Linked DNA regions of Homo sapiens: all the other regions are linked to region 2. Evidence: promoter capture Hi-C in 16 types of primary human blood cells and fetal thymus (Javierre and others, 2016). All regions are on one chromosome and are shown on one strand. The core of a region is centred on a gene start or on the middle of the fragment in contact, and the rest is flanking DNA. Distances in the headings are between cores, read along the strand shown.

Region 1 (3,541 bases), core at 134-2,633, 1.1 Mb after region 2:
TGTAATCCCAGTTACTCGGGAGGCTGAGGCAGGAGAATCGCTTTAAACCGGGAGGCGGAGGTTGCAGAGCCAAGATCGGGCCATTGCACTCCAGCCTCGGTGACAAAATATAATAATAATAAAATTAAAAAGGGCTTAGCATAGTATCTGGCCAGTAAGAAGAAATTATGATTATTATTTTGACCTTAGACCTCTCTTAACTGTCTGAAATTCGGGTTTCTTAAAGGACACAGGCGGTCTCTGAGGCTCCCGCCAGCGGAAACAATCTCCCATTAAAATAGGCATCGGTTAAATATTTGCTGAACAAAGTAAACTACGTCTCCCCGAATCCCATTGAGCGCCTACTCGAGATCCGGACCGGAGCCGGGCAGGACGGGCCCGTCGGTCCCACACGCCGTATAAGTGGGTGGAGAATACCCCACACGCCCAGACCAATAGGCGGGGTGAACGAGGACCGTGTTCACCAACTCAGCCCGGCTCGCGGAATGCCTTCTGTTCGCCTCCGGGCTTGCAGTGGCTTTCCGTCGCAGGTCAGGCCGCGTTCCACTTCCGCCGGCAGTCCAGACACGCCCCTCCGGGTCCAATCCCCGCCCCTCACACACCTGGCCCCGCCCCGTCGGGAGCTCGGCGGTCCTCTCTGCGCTAGGTCTTCTTAGCGCCCGACGGGGCCACGCCCATCCCCGACGCTCTGAGGTCACCTACAGGGCCGACCCTCGGTGGGCGGAGGGACGGAGGGAAGATGGCTGCAGAGACCGGATATTGGCGCTGCCTCCCCGAATCCCGGACCTGCGCTGAGGAGGCGGTTCATCTGTGGCCAGCGGTGCTTCGGGACCCGCGCTGGGGGAACCCTGGCGACGGGGCCTGGCCCTGCTATATGCGGGGGCCTCGGCTGGAGTGAGCGGCGTGGACGCCTCTTTCCTCCGGCTCTTCCCTTGTTGCTGCGAGAGCGAGAGGGCCGCGGGCGGCGGAGGCAGCGGGGCCGGGATGGAGGACGTTAACTCTAACGTGAACGCGGACCAGGAGGTGCGGAAGCTGCAGGTGCCGGTGAAGAAGCTGGGGAAGCAGCACGAACAGCCGAGGAGCCGCTCGCGCTGTGCTGGGCCCCGGCTCCATCGCGGTTCGCCGGCTCCTCCACTCCCTCCTACGGCGCGGGGTCCCCTCGGGGCTTCCCCTTGGGTCTCAGCGCAAAGTCGGGCGGCGGGGCCGGATGGACCCGAGGCGGACGAATAACGAGGAGCTGCGAGACGCCACCTTCTTGCTGGCGGCGGGGGAGGGCGGCTTGCTAGACGACCTGGAGCGTCTGTCAGGCTAGGAGGAGGGGGAGGAGAGCTGGTGAGCGCCGGGCGCCGGGCGGGGCTGGGCGGGGACGCCCCGGTGGCGGAGGACGTCCCGGAGGATCCCTCTGGTCGGGCGCCTGGCTTTGTGTAGCCAGCCAGGTCCGCTCTCGGCGGGTACTCGTGGTCTTGCTCTGGCAGAGGGGAGGTCAGTTGGAGTTGGGGGTTCGAGGCTTGCAAGTACAGGGCTTGTAGCTCCTTCTCTGGATTGTGGACCCTCTGGGTGCTGGGCCCTATTGGGGTTGGTGGGTTGGTTGGATCCAGAAGGGCTGTTCGCCGTGGGGAGGAGTCGGAGGTGGGAAACTGCTTTGTAGGCAGGGATTCTGCTTTGTATAGGAGACCAGCTTTCGGATGCTGGTCTGGGCATTTTGGATGTTGGGGAGGGGTTTGGCTTGATGAGGTATCACCAAGTTCGGGGGGTGCAGACCAAAGTCGCCGACGTCTATGCAGCGGTTGGTGTTTGGGATCAATTTCTAGCGTGGATGGGGAGACCATGTGGATCAGCACTCCCCTTTAGGTAGTGGGGTAAAGCTTGCTCTGTGTGAAGAGGTCAGAGGATGGTGGTGTTTTGTGTGAAGAATCAAGGGTGAAACAAGAGCCCTGGCTCTGATATTTTAAAACAAGAATTGAGTCTGGCATTTTGCAGAGCTCTGAATTGACATTTATCACATCTATCCTTCATTTCCATGTCCTCCTATGGGCAGAAAAGAGTCCTATTTTAATACCTAAACCAAAGCTGTATTGTCATAAGCCACTTCTTGATGAAATTGTGACACACACCTTAATATCACTTTCATAAATAGGAAATGGGAGGCTTTTCTCCTCATTTTATTATAAAGATGTCTGTGGGAAATTCTCTTAATTCATCCTCTTTAAAATTTTACCTTTTAGCTAAAATGTCTCTGTTGAAATTCAAATTTCTAACTTAGTGAAATCGAAATCATTCATAGACTGTAGTATTGCAGGGCTCGAACTGTGCAGTGTTCTGAGGTAGTTAAGAGCTTTGCTGGATTCAGGCCCTGGGTTTGCCCAGGCCTGTATGACCTTGAGCAAGTTATTCTGAGCTTCACTTTCTTCCTCTATGATGGAGAAAATAATGATAGCACTTACCTCTATAGAGTTATGAAAATTTAGTAAGATAATCCATGTATGCATTTAGCACTGTTGAGATCTTGGCTTACTGCAAGCTCCGCCTCCTGGGTTCACACCGTTCTCCTGCCTCAGCCTCCCGAGTAGTTGGGACTACAGGCACTGGCCACCACTCCCTGCTAATTTTTTGTTTTCGTATTTTTAGAAGAGACGGGTTTCACCGTGTTAGCCAGGATGGCCTCGATCTGACCTCGTGATCCTCCCGCCTCGGCCTTCCAAAGAGCTGGGATTACAGGCATGAGCCACCATGCCCAGCCTATTACTCTTAAGCCTAGTTATTTAAATCAAACATTTAGTGAGCTCTTACATGATGTTATAGGAGACTCTGAAGATTCTCAACTGTTGATTCCTGTTCATAAGGCAGTTATAGTCTTGTTGAGAACTAAGTTTTATGCAGATAAATAAACTAGAAAGTGTATGGTGAATTGCCGAAAGAGAGAACAAAAGTACTGTCAGTGCGCAGTAACTGGGAAGAAAACAGTAGTCCAAAGTAGAGGGGCCAAACTTTGAGGAGGAGGCTTTGGAGTCTGGAAGTGAGGAAAGAGTGGGAAGGGCATTTTATGCTCTGACAGCTACAAGAGCAGAGTCAGAGATATTTGTAACTCCCAGTTAGGAGATTTGAATAACAGAAGTACTCTTGAGTATATGGTGACAAACCTTTATTTTTTATTTACTATTTTTTTTTTTTTTTGAGACGGAGTCTCGCTCTGTTGCCCTGGCTGGAGTGCAGTGGCATGATCTCAGCTCACTGCAACCTCCGCCTCCCAGGTTCAAGCAATTCTTCTGCCCCAGCCTCCCAAGTAGCTGGGACTGCAGGTGCCCACCCCCATGCCCAGCTAATTTTTGTGTTTTTAGTAGAGATGGAGTTTCACCATACTGGCCAGGCTGGTCTCGAACTCCAGACCTCGTGATCTGCCCGCCTTGGCCTCCCAAAGTGCTGCGTGAGCCACCGCACCCAGCCGACAAACCTTTATTACCAGGTGATATCAAATATTATTAGAGCTGACTGTGGTAGTGACAGTTTTTCATATAAATGAAATTGCATCCTCCCAAAGGAA
Region 2 (3,625 bases), core at 452-2,951:
TACAGATGCATGCATGAATATGTAGAATATCAGCCACTCCTACGGTGTGAGAGAATTTAAATTGCACTGGTCCTAAGAGTGAAGGAAAGCAGGCGTAGTTGCCTACTCAACCTCCACTTTATTCTTTTCCCTTTATAACAATCCTAATTTCATTTGAGATGACAATGTATACAGCTAGAAGACAATTTCTCAGCCTCCCTTGGAGAGCTAGGTTCCAGCCAATGAGATGTAAACAGAAATGTATGCAATGTTCAAGTAGGCTGCTTAAAAGAAGTTGACTCCACTTGAAAGGTGTGCTTGGTTTGGCCTGCCTTCTCCCTTCCTCTGGTTGAATGTCATCTTGATGACTGGAGCTCCAGGAGCCATCCTGGAATTTCTGACCTTGAGGGTGGAAGCCACAGGCTAATATGATAGAAGGATGAGGAAGAGGCTGAGTACCAGATGGCTGAGAAGCCACTATACCAGCCCTAGTTTCGAGTTTACACTGCTTCTGTGAAAGAAAAGTCAATCACAATAAAACCTTTTATCTTGTTTAAACCACCTTAAAAAGTCAGTTTTCTTTTATATGCAGCCTACTAATCCTATCCAAACAAGGCTTGAATAAGGTTTACTACAGCTCTTTTTTGTTGTAATAGCAGAAAAATTGGTAATAAATGCCCATCAATAGGAAAATAAACTATTAATTTAACAATACCAAATAAAACTGTGCAGCAGTATAAAGAATGAAGCGTTTTTTGTTGTTGTTTTTGAGATGCGGGTCTTGCTTTATTGCCCAGTCTGGTCTCAAACTCCTAAACTCAAATTATCGTCCTACCTCAGCCTCCCAAAGTGCTGGGATTATAAAGGCTTAAGCCACCGTGCGGCCTTTGGTTTTTTTTGTTTTTTGTTTTTTAAGGTCTTATGTAATTAAACATTTTAAAGACATCAGCTGATGAGCCGTTTAAAACAAGAAGAATCTCAAAGCATCTTTGGCCAAAATCTTTTTAAGAAACAAAAAGTAGCGTGATTCAGCCTTGAAAAGGATTAGTTAGAGCCTACAGTATTAGGTTGAAATCAAAGAAAGGCAAGCTTTTTTTTTTTTGGATGAATAGTAATGATCTTTTTGGAAAAAAAAAACAAATATTGAAAGCTGGTTGAACTGAATCCTCTTTATTGATGAGGAAAGCAGTGGACTCGAACTATTTATGACTTTCTGAAAAAAGTTGCCCTACCTGCCACTCACTTCTTTTTAACTGGCTGTTCTCAAAGGAAATTGCAAGAGACTGAGGATAAACGTCCGACATCCAGAAATGGGCTTTTTTAGAGCCGAGGCAGCCTCCAGAACTTCCAGTTCCAATTTATTTCACAGGCGAGAAACTGAGGTCAACAGGGACGTTGGTTAGTGGTTCCTGGAGGCCCTGAAGGAACTTTTGGACCTGGCTTGTGCGTTCCAGAGAAAAAGGTCGGCCTCTGACGGAAAACGAAAAATGAGCACTCAGGGACCCACCCAGCCGGGACAGAGCGCCTCAGCCGGACCAAGAGGAGGAGCCAGTGGGGCGGGGCCAAAATGGCGGAGGGGCGGGGCTTCCAGAGGCGGGGGTTAGGAAATGGTACGGGGCGGGGCCCGGTAGGCTAGCGAGGGCCGGGAGGCGGGGCCTCGGAAAGGCGGACAGGAAGGCGTGTGCAAGGCGGGGTCCGGCCCGCGCAGGTCGGGTAAGCGCGTCTAGGGCGCTGCGCGGCGCAGCGAAAATGGCGGCTTCCAGGTGGGCGCGCAAGGCCGTGGTCCTGCTTTGTGCCTCTGACCTGCTGCTGCTGCTGCTACTGCTACCACCGCCTGGGTCCTGCGCGGCCGAAGGCTCGCCCGGGACGCCCGACGAGTCTACCCCACCTCCCCGGAAGAAGAAGAAGGATATTCGCGATTACAATGATGCAGACATGGCGCGTCTTCTGGAGCAATGGGAGGTCCGCGGCGCGCGCACACCCTCCCGGCTCTTCTCTGTGCGGGACCCTGTTCCCTATGACCCCTTACCTGTTCTGTCTTGGGACCTTTCTGACCCCCTAACCTCCTCTACTCATGCCTTGAATCCTTACTGACCCACTGAAGCCACTGTTGACCCTCCATTCCTCCTCTGACCCGCGCGCCCTGCTGACCCTCGCTCCAGCCCTCTGTCATTCCAGTGCCCTGTTCCTCCTGCCATTTCTCAAACCACTTCAATCACGGATCTGCCCCTCACTGTTCAGCTTTGCTCTCCCTTCACCCTTCAGTGCCCTGGTTGTCTTTGCGTTGATTCTTGTGGTCAGTGAGCCCTGCAAACAGGGAGAGTGACCTTTCCCAATCTACTAAAGAGCATTTCCTTCTGTTTTGCGGTGAGTGGGTGGGAGAGTGGGTTGCAGTGAAGATGGTCTTCCTTAATGGTTATCTCAGCTGTCTTCTAAATCAGTATAATTTTAGACTTCCTATTTTGGTATATGTCCCTGCTGGGAATTTTGTGCTTTTTGTGGGTGGATTTATTTTACTGAGGGGAGAAGTATCAATGGCTAATGGCTCTGTATCGTGAAACTCACGCTTTTTGTTCAAAGGAGAGTAAGTTTTCTGGTTTGTCACTTGGACGCACCGGAGTGTGCAGTTACAGGGAGTGTGTAATACGCTTTAAGGTAAAGATTACTGGCCAAAACCACATTGCTGCCTTTTCCCCTTCCTAAGGTGATTGTATCGTCCTGGTTGACTTGCATAGCTGTGGAACCTTGGGCAGGTTATGTCTAGTTTCTAGGCCTCGGTTTCTTTATCTGCAACATGAGGAGGTTAGGATGGGTCCTAAGATTCCTTCCAACACTGATGTTTTGTTATTTTGTGATTATCTCTGTGTGTGTTACGGGAGAAGGGAAAGACTTTCAGACAAGAGTTTAAAATACCACCTGATGCATCTGACTAGAAGAATGCAGGCTTGTGTTTTCATGTGGTCATCAACAGCTGATGGAAAGATTGGGATAGATTTGAGTGTAGAGAGAACGTCCCCATTCACCGTCTCCCTTGCAATCTCCTTGTCTCTTTTTGGACTCCAGCAAATAAAGCCTTTTGATCTGCCAGAGTGAGAACATCACCTCATGAGAAATCCTCCCCTTGACCTACTCAGACCCTGAGCTAGACGAAGAGGGTGCTGAAGAGATGAACAAAGATTGCACTGGGAACAGTAGATAACAGGATGGATGAGTGGGGAGAGACTTTGAAGGCCAAGAAAAACACATTATCTCATTTAATCCTTTTACCCCATCCATGAGGGAGGTACTTATCCCTATTTTCTAGATGATGACATTGAGACACAAAGAGGTTAAATAACTTGCTCCACATCGCACAGCAAGCTAGCTGAGTTTCAAATTCTTTCGCGACTTTTAGAGCCAGTTCTTTGAACTGTTTTACCTGTACTGCCACACATGTTGGTGACAGAAGTGCAAATGAAGGATAGTGAGGAAGACGTGGATTAAGCTAGAAACTGCAGGAGCAGAGTAGAAGGGAGAAATGTGAGATTTTTATACTTTTAACAGGACTTGATGGTTGATTTTGTTTTTTAAATTATTTTTTATAGAGACAGGGTCTCCTTATGTTGGCTGGGCTGGTTTTGAACTCTTGGCCTTTGCAGTCCTCCCA
Region 3 (3,982 bases), core at 375-2,874, 1.1 Mb before region 2:
TCCGTTTCTTTTGCAAGCTATTTAATTTGCAAAAGTAAGCAAGATGTGCACAAAATAGTTTTGAGACATCTGGAAACAAAACAAGGTTGCCTCATCATTAATCTTGTTTTTGTGTGATAACTTTACTTTTTCTCATTTTATGACAACTGAAATTCTCTATTATACTGCCAGACCTCATTCTGCAAGCTTCTCTCCTGTGCTAATAAAAAATATTATGGCCACATCGAGAAGTCCTTAGGGAATGTGTTCTGCATCAGGAAAAGTAATTAAGCTCTGGGGTCCTAAAGGAGCCTGGGAAAGTCTATCCAGAAACTATGGGGTTAGGATGTATTATCTATTGAAAAACAGAACCGGACTTTGCAAGTTTTACAATATCTTGGCTTATTAAAGCCACTAACTGAGAATTAAAATTTCTGGATTGTTACTTTTACAACAGCAGTCAAGTGTCGGAAAATATCCTGACCAGTCAGTAAGGTATACAAATAGAGAAGGCAAGGAGTAGCTGTGAGTAAAGCGCCAACTACATTTGCTGAGTACCTGGGAATTTACGAGTTAGCTTTTGCTATCATTATCCGTCTCGCTAAAGCAACCCTATGAGGTAGGTGGGAAGCTGGATGCCGTCCTCTTTTGACAGCCAACACTGAAGAACAGCTGGGGCTGGAAACTAGATCTGTCAGACATAGTAACTGCTTCTATCACTCTCACCACCCTCCCATGCTCTTGAGAGTGCCTTCGCTTTTGTGGGTGTCTTCAGAAAAGCATGCGGATCTCTGTATAGGTTTTACTCAAGTGTTCCTCTCTGTGGAGGGTGACCTGGGCTACATGAACATGGGCACCTCAGGATCGGCAGCTTTCCATGAATTCCTATGGTAAGGGGTTCAGCTTATCCTTCATGTGGGTGAAGATGTATGATTTCATTGAACATTGGCAGTTACAGCCAAGTACAAGTCCTGCCTTCAGGATCCAGCAGGGAAGAATGACATTAAACATGTCACCTTGGAGAAATGTTGCATTCACCTTCCGGGTAATGACCCAGCCACCCAGGGACTCCTCTGAAATATCCAATCCTCTAAGTTTAAACACGTTTCAGAATTAATCCATCTGAATTCTTATCGCTGTAGATGCAAGGAGAAGGAGTTATGGCAGGTCTGAAACTATTAGCGGCCAAGCTCCCTAGCAGAAGCAACCTCTCCCTACACCCCATTATCCGTGCACAGCTCCTTATCAGCGGAGGAACAACTTTACTGTCACCATATTTTCTACTTGGAAAAAAAAAAGAAACCTCAGCAGGCCCAATCCGAAGGCTATGAAATTTCAAAGAAACAGAGCTAAGAGGCGAGAAACTAGCCCTTTGTGTTAAAAAGATGGAAATGCTCCAAGCGCCTTTCCAGTCTGCTTTCTGTTTACAGGCCTTGCGTGAGCGCGGGAGGCTGGGCCTCATCTCTGGCTCTCCCCAGCCAGGACCCCTTACTCAAAACCCTCCATCTCGGCAAGAACCCTCATTCCCAAGTTAGTTGGATTCCAAGTCCATAAACCGGGTCAAAAGAATACAGTAATTTCCTACTGGAGCTCTAAGTGGTGGTTTTCACGGAGGACTCGGCACCATCCTCCCACCTGCCTCCTCCCATCGAACATTCCTTTTTAAGAAAAACACACACCAGGCTCCGGGAAGCTGACGTAAACATCCTGAGGAAATAACCACTGTAAGTGGCTTCTAAACCCATTTCCCCAAGGAAATAATCAGCACCTCTTTCCCAAGACAGCTCCAGGTAAGCAAGCGGTGAAGGGAGCTGCACCACCGCGTTCTCAAAAGTAAAGGCGCTTGCGGAACTGTCTACTGATTTGTAAGCGCGCGCCCATCCACTGTCGCATTTAATCTTCCGAACGACCCACGAGGTGGTAAAGGCGGGGATTATTTTCTTCATTTTACGGGTGAGAAACCGAGGCCCACAGCGCTCGTTCCTGTAGCCGGGGTCAGGCAGGGCACACCTAGGGGAGCCTCTGCCTTCGAGCCCCGGGACCGCCCCGCGGCACCACGAGATCTCCCCAGTCAGCCCGTGTGCGGCTGCGGCCGCATGGCCTCATTGTTTTGGGAAGACGTCCCTCTGTGAGGATCTTGGGCGACTCTATGAACCGCGGGCCCAGCCGCTCTGCGGAACGATCCGCAGCGGGACGCAAAGGGCGCGGCGAGCCCGGCGGCTCCCGGAACAAAGGACAGCAGAGCGCGCGGGGCCCGAAGGGGCGTCCGCCCTAGTGGGCGGCGGAGGGGGATGCGCGCGGAGAGGACCAGCGCGCACCGCCCCGGCCCGCCCCTCAAATCCTCCTTCCTTCTCTCTCGCACTCGGAGACGGTCCCTGGGAGATCCGGGAGGGGGCGCAGCTCGCCGTCCTCGCCGGCAAGTGCCGTCGCAACCTCCCTCTGCCGCCACCCCCACCCCGAGAAGCGCACAAAGAGCGGCCGGGCAGGGAGCGCTCACCTCCCGTCGGGGCGGGGCCGCGGGCGGGGCCGGCGCGCGCTCCGCAGCGCCCGCCTTAAAGGGCCCGCCCGCTCCTCGCGCGCACTGCGCATGCTCGGCCGCGGGGCACGGAGGGGAGGGATGGGAACAGCGGGCGCGCACGCCCGCGCCGCCCGCTGGCGCTGTGGCCTGCGTCCCCGCGGTGGCGGCGCGGCGCTCGTGCGCGTGTCAGAACCCGCAGGGTCTCGGCCCGGGCGCCGGGCGTGTGCTGGACACTGGTGCCATGCATTCCAGAGGTCGCCAGCGGCCGGGCGGGCCGAGCTCGCGCGGCAGCCAGCTTTTAGCTTTCCCATCCTCAGTTTCAGGGCCAGTTGGGCGAAGTGCTGCCCAAGGAGACAGAAATGCAGGCGCGGGCGCGCGCGCGCGCGGTTGCCAGTGTGGGCGGGCGTGTGCTTTTGTGTCTCGTGCGCTCCCGCGCAGGTGGACAACCCGCGCCGGGAGTCACTCTGCCCGTGCGCCCCAAGACCTGGAGTCCCGTTTTCCGTGTCGGAGGGCTCGGGTCGCCCTTTTGGGCGGACTACAGACTCTTCTCACAGAGGAAGCTTTGGCTCCACGGATGGTTTATTTGGAGCCACTAACGGGACTTCCTGAGGACCGCTCTTTTAGAGCCCGGCTCCAGGCATCAGAGTTGGGCGCGTTTTCTTTTCTCAGTCAGGCGAGGGAGGAGACTTAGGGACAATGATTGTCCTCGGCTGATAGGTACATCCAAGTGTCCCGAGCCTGCCAGTCCCGCATTAGACAACAAAGAGAGGCGTTAGCGGCGGCGGGGGAGGGGCGCGGCCGGGAGGAGGACGGGGCGGGCTGCGGCGAGCGCGGGGGTGGGGGGTGGCGCTCTCTCTCCGCTCGCTCAACCCGCGGCCTCCTCCCGCCCCCGGCCTGGCGCGCGCCAATCGCCTCCCCCAGCGATAGTGTCAGTAGCATTGTGGTGTCAGCTCCCGCCTGTGACGTTGCGCCTCCCTCGTCCCCCTCCGGAGTCGTCTGGCTGCAGAGGCTCAGTCAAGAGGCGGGGAGGAGAGGAGGAAAAAGCGCTGAGTGAGGGCGGGCGGGCGGGCGGGAGGGAGGGAGTGGAGGAGCCGGGGAGGGGCTCCTTAAAGAAACGCTTCTGTCGCTCGCCTGCTCGCTTTTCGCTCGGCATTGCGGCCAGCCAGCCGGGCACTCGGGGGGCACGCGCGGCCACCGCTAGAGCTCTGCCCCCACCCCACCCGCCAGCAGGTCTGGGGTGGGGACCCAGGTGGGGGCTCCTGCAGCCACTGCCCGGTGCGGACCGCACGGAGCGACCCACTCCTCCCAGCACCGAGGAAGAAGCAACGGAGCCCTCAGCAGGCGACCGGCCTCCCCGCCCCTGACCACCCGCTTCCCGGCTGCCTTTGTGGCCGCAGCTTCTCGCCGCCGAGCCGAGGGCCGGCGGGGGCGCGGCGCGCACGGCCGAGCGATGCCCAGCTCGCTGTTCGCAGACCTGGAGCGCAA

Evidence for each region. The method cuts DNA at HindIII sites, captures the fragments that hold promoters and counts their contacts. A CHiCAGO score of 5 or more calls a contact.
Region 1: a contact is called between the fragment with the promoter of ST20-MTHFS here and the fragment with the promoter of MESD in region 2, in 1 of 17 cell types (non-activated CD4 T cells). The highest score is 7.1, in non-activated CD4 T cells.
Region 3: a contact is called between a fragment that was not itself captured here and the fragment with the promoter of MESD in region 2, in 1 of 17 cell types (fetal thymus). The highest score is 7.7, in fetal thymus.

What each region holds. Positions count from the first base shown.
Region 1 is chr15:79,920,934-79,924,474 of GRCh38, reverse strand. ST20-MTHFS (ST20-MTHFS readthrough) reads left to right here and starts at 1,383. Exons shown (of 4, transcript NM_001199760.2): 1 at 1,383-1,436. ST20 (suppressor of tumorigenicity 20) reads left to right here and starts at 723. Exons shown (of 3, transcript NR_037653.2): 1 at 723-1,023. ST20-AS1 (ST20 antisense RNA 1) reads right to left here and starts at 1,704. Exons shown (of 1, transcript NR_028330.1): 1 at 1-1,704. RefSeq lists enhancers at 1-144, 346-395, 826-1,005 and silencers at 536-685, 1,306-1,355, 1,366-1,435, 1,456-1,565. The HindIII fragment of the contact is 4,343 bases long and covers 1-1,867 here.
Region 2 is chr15:80,987,895-80,991,519 of GRCh38, reverse strand. MESD (mesoderm development LRP chaperone) reads left to right here and starts at 1,701. Exons shown (of 3, transcript NM_015154.3): 1 at 1,701-1,941. The coding sequence starts at 1,729. RefSeq lists a silencer at 1,428-1,707 and enhancers at 1,458-1,752, 1,392-2,005, 1,738-2,017, 2,006-2,620. The HindIII fragment of the contact is 12,917 bases long and covers 1,071-3,625 here.
Region 3 is chr15:82,045,671-82,049,652 of GRCh38, reverse strand. It overlaps MEX3B (mex-3 RNA binding family member B), which reads left to right and starts at 3,635. Exons shown (of 2, transcript NM_032246.6): 1 at 3,635-3,982. The coding sequence starts at 3,948. RefSeq lists silencers at 2,386-2,705, 3,556-3,855 and an enhancer at 2,386-3,332. The HindIII fragment of the contact is 2,871 bases long and covers 189-3,059 here.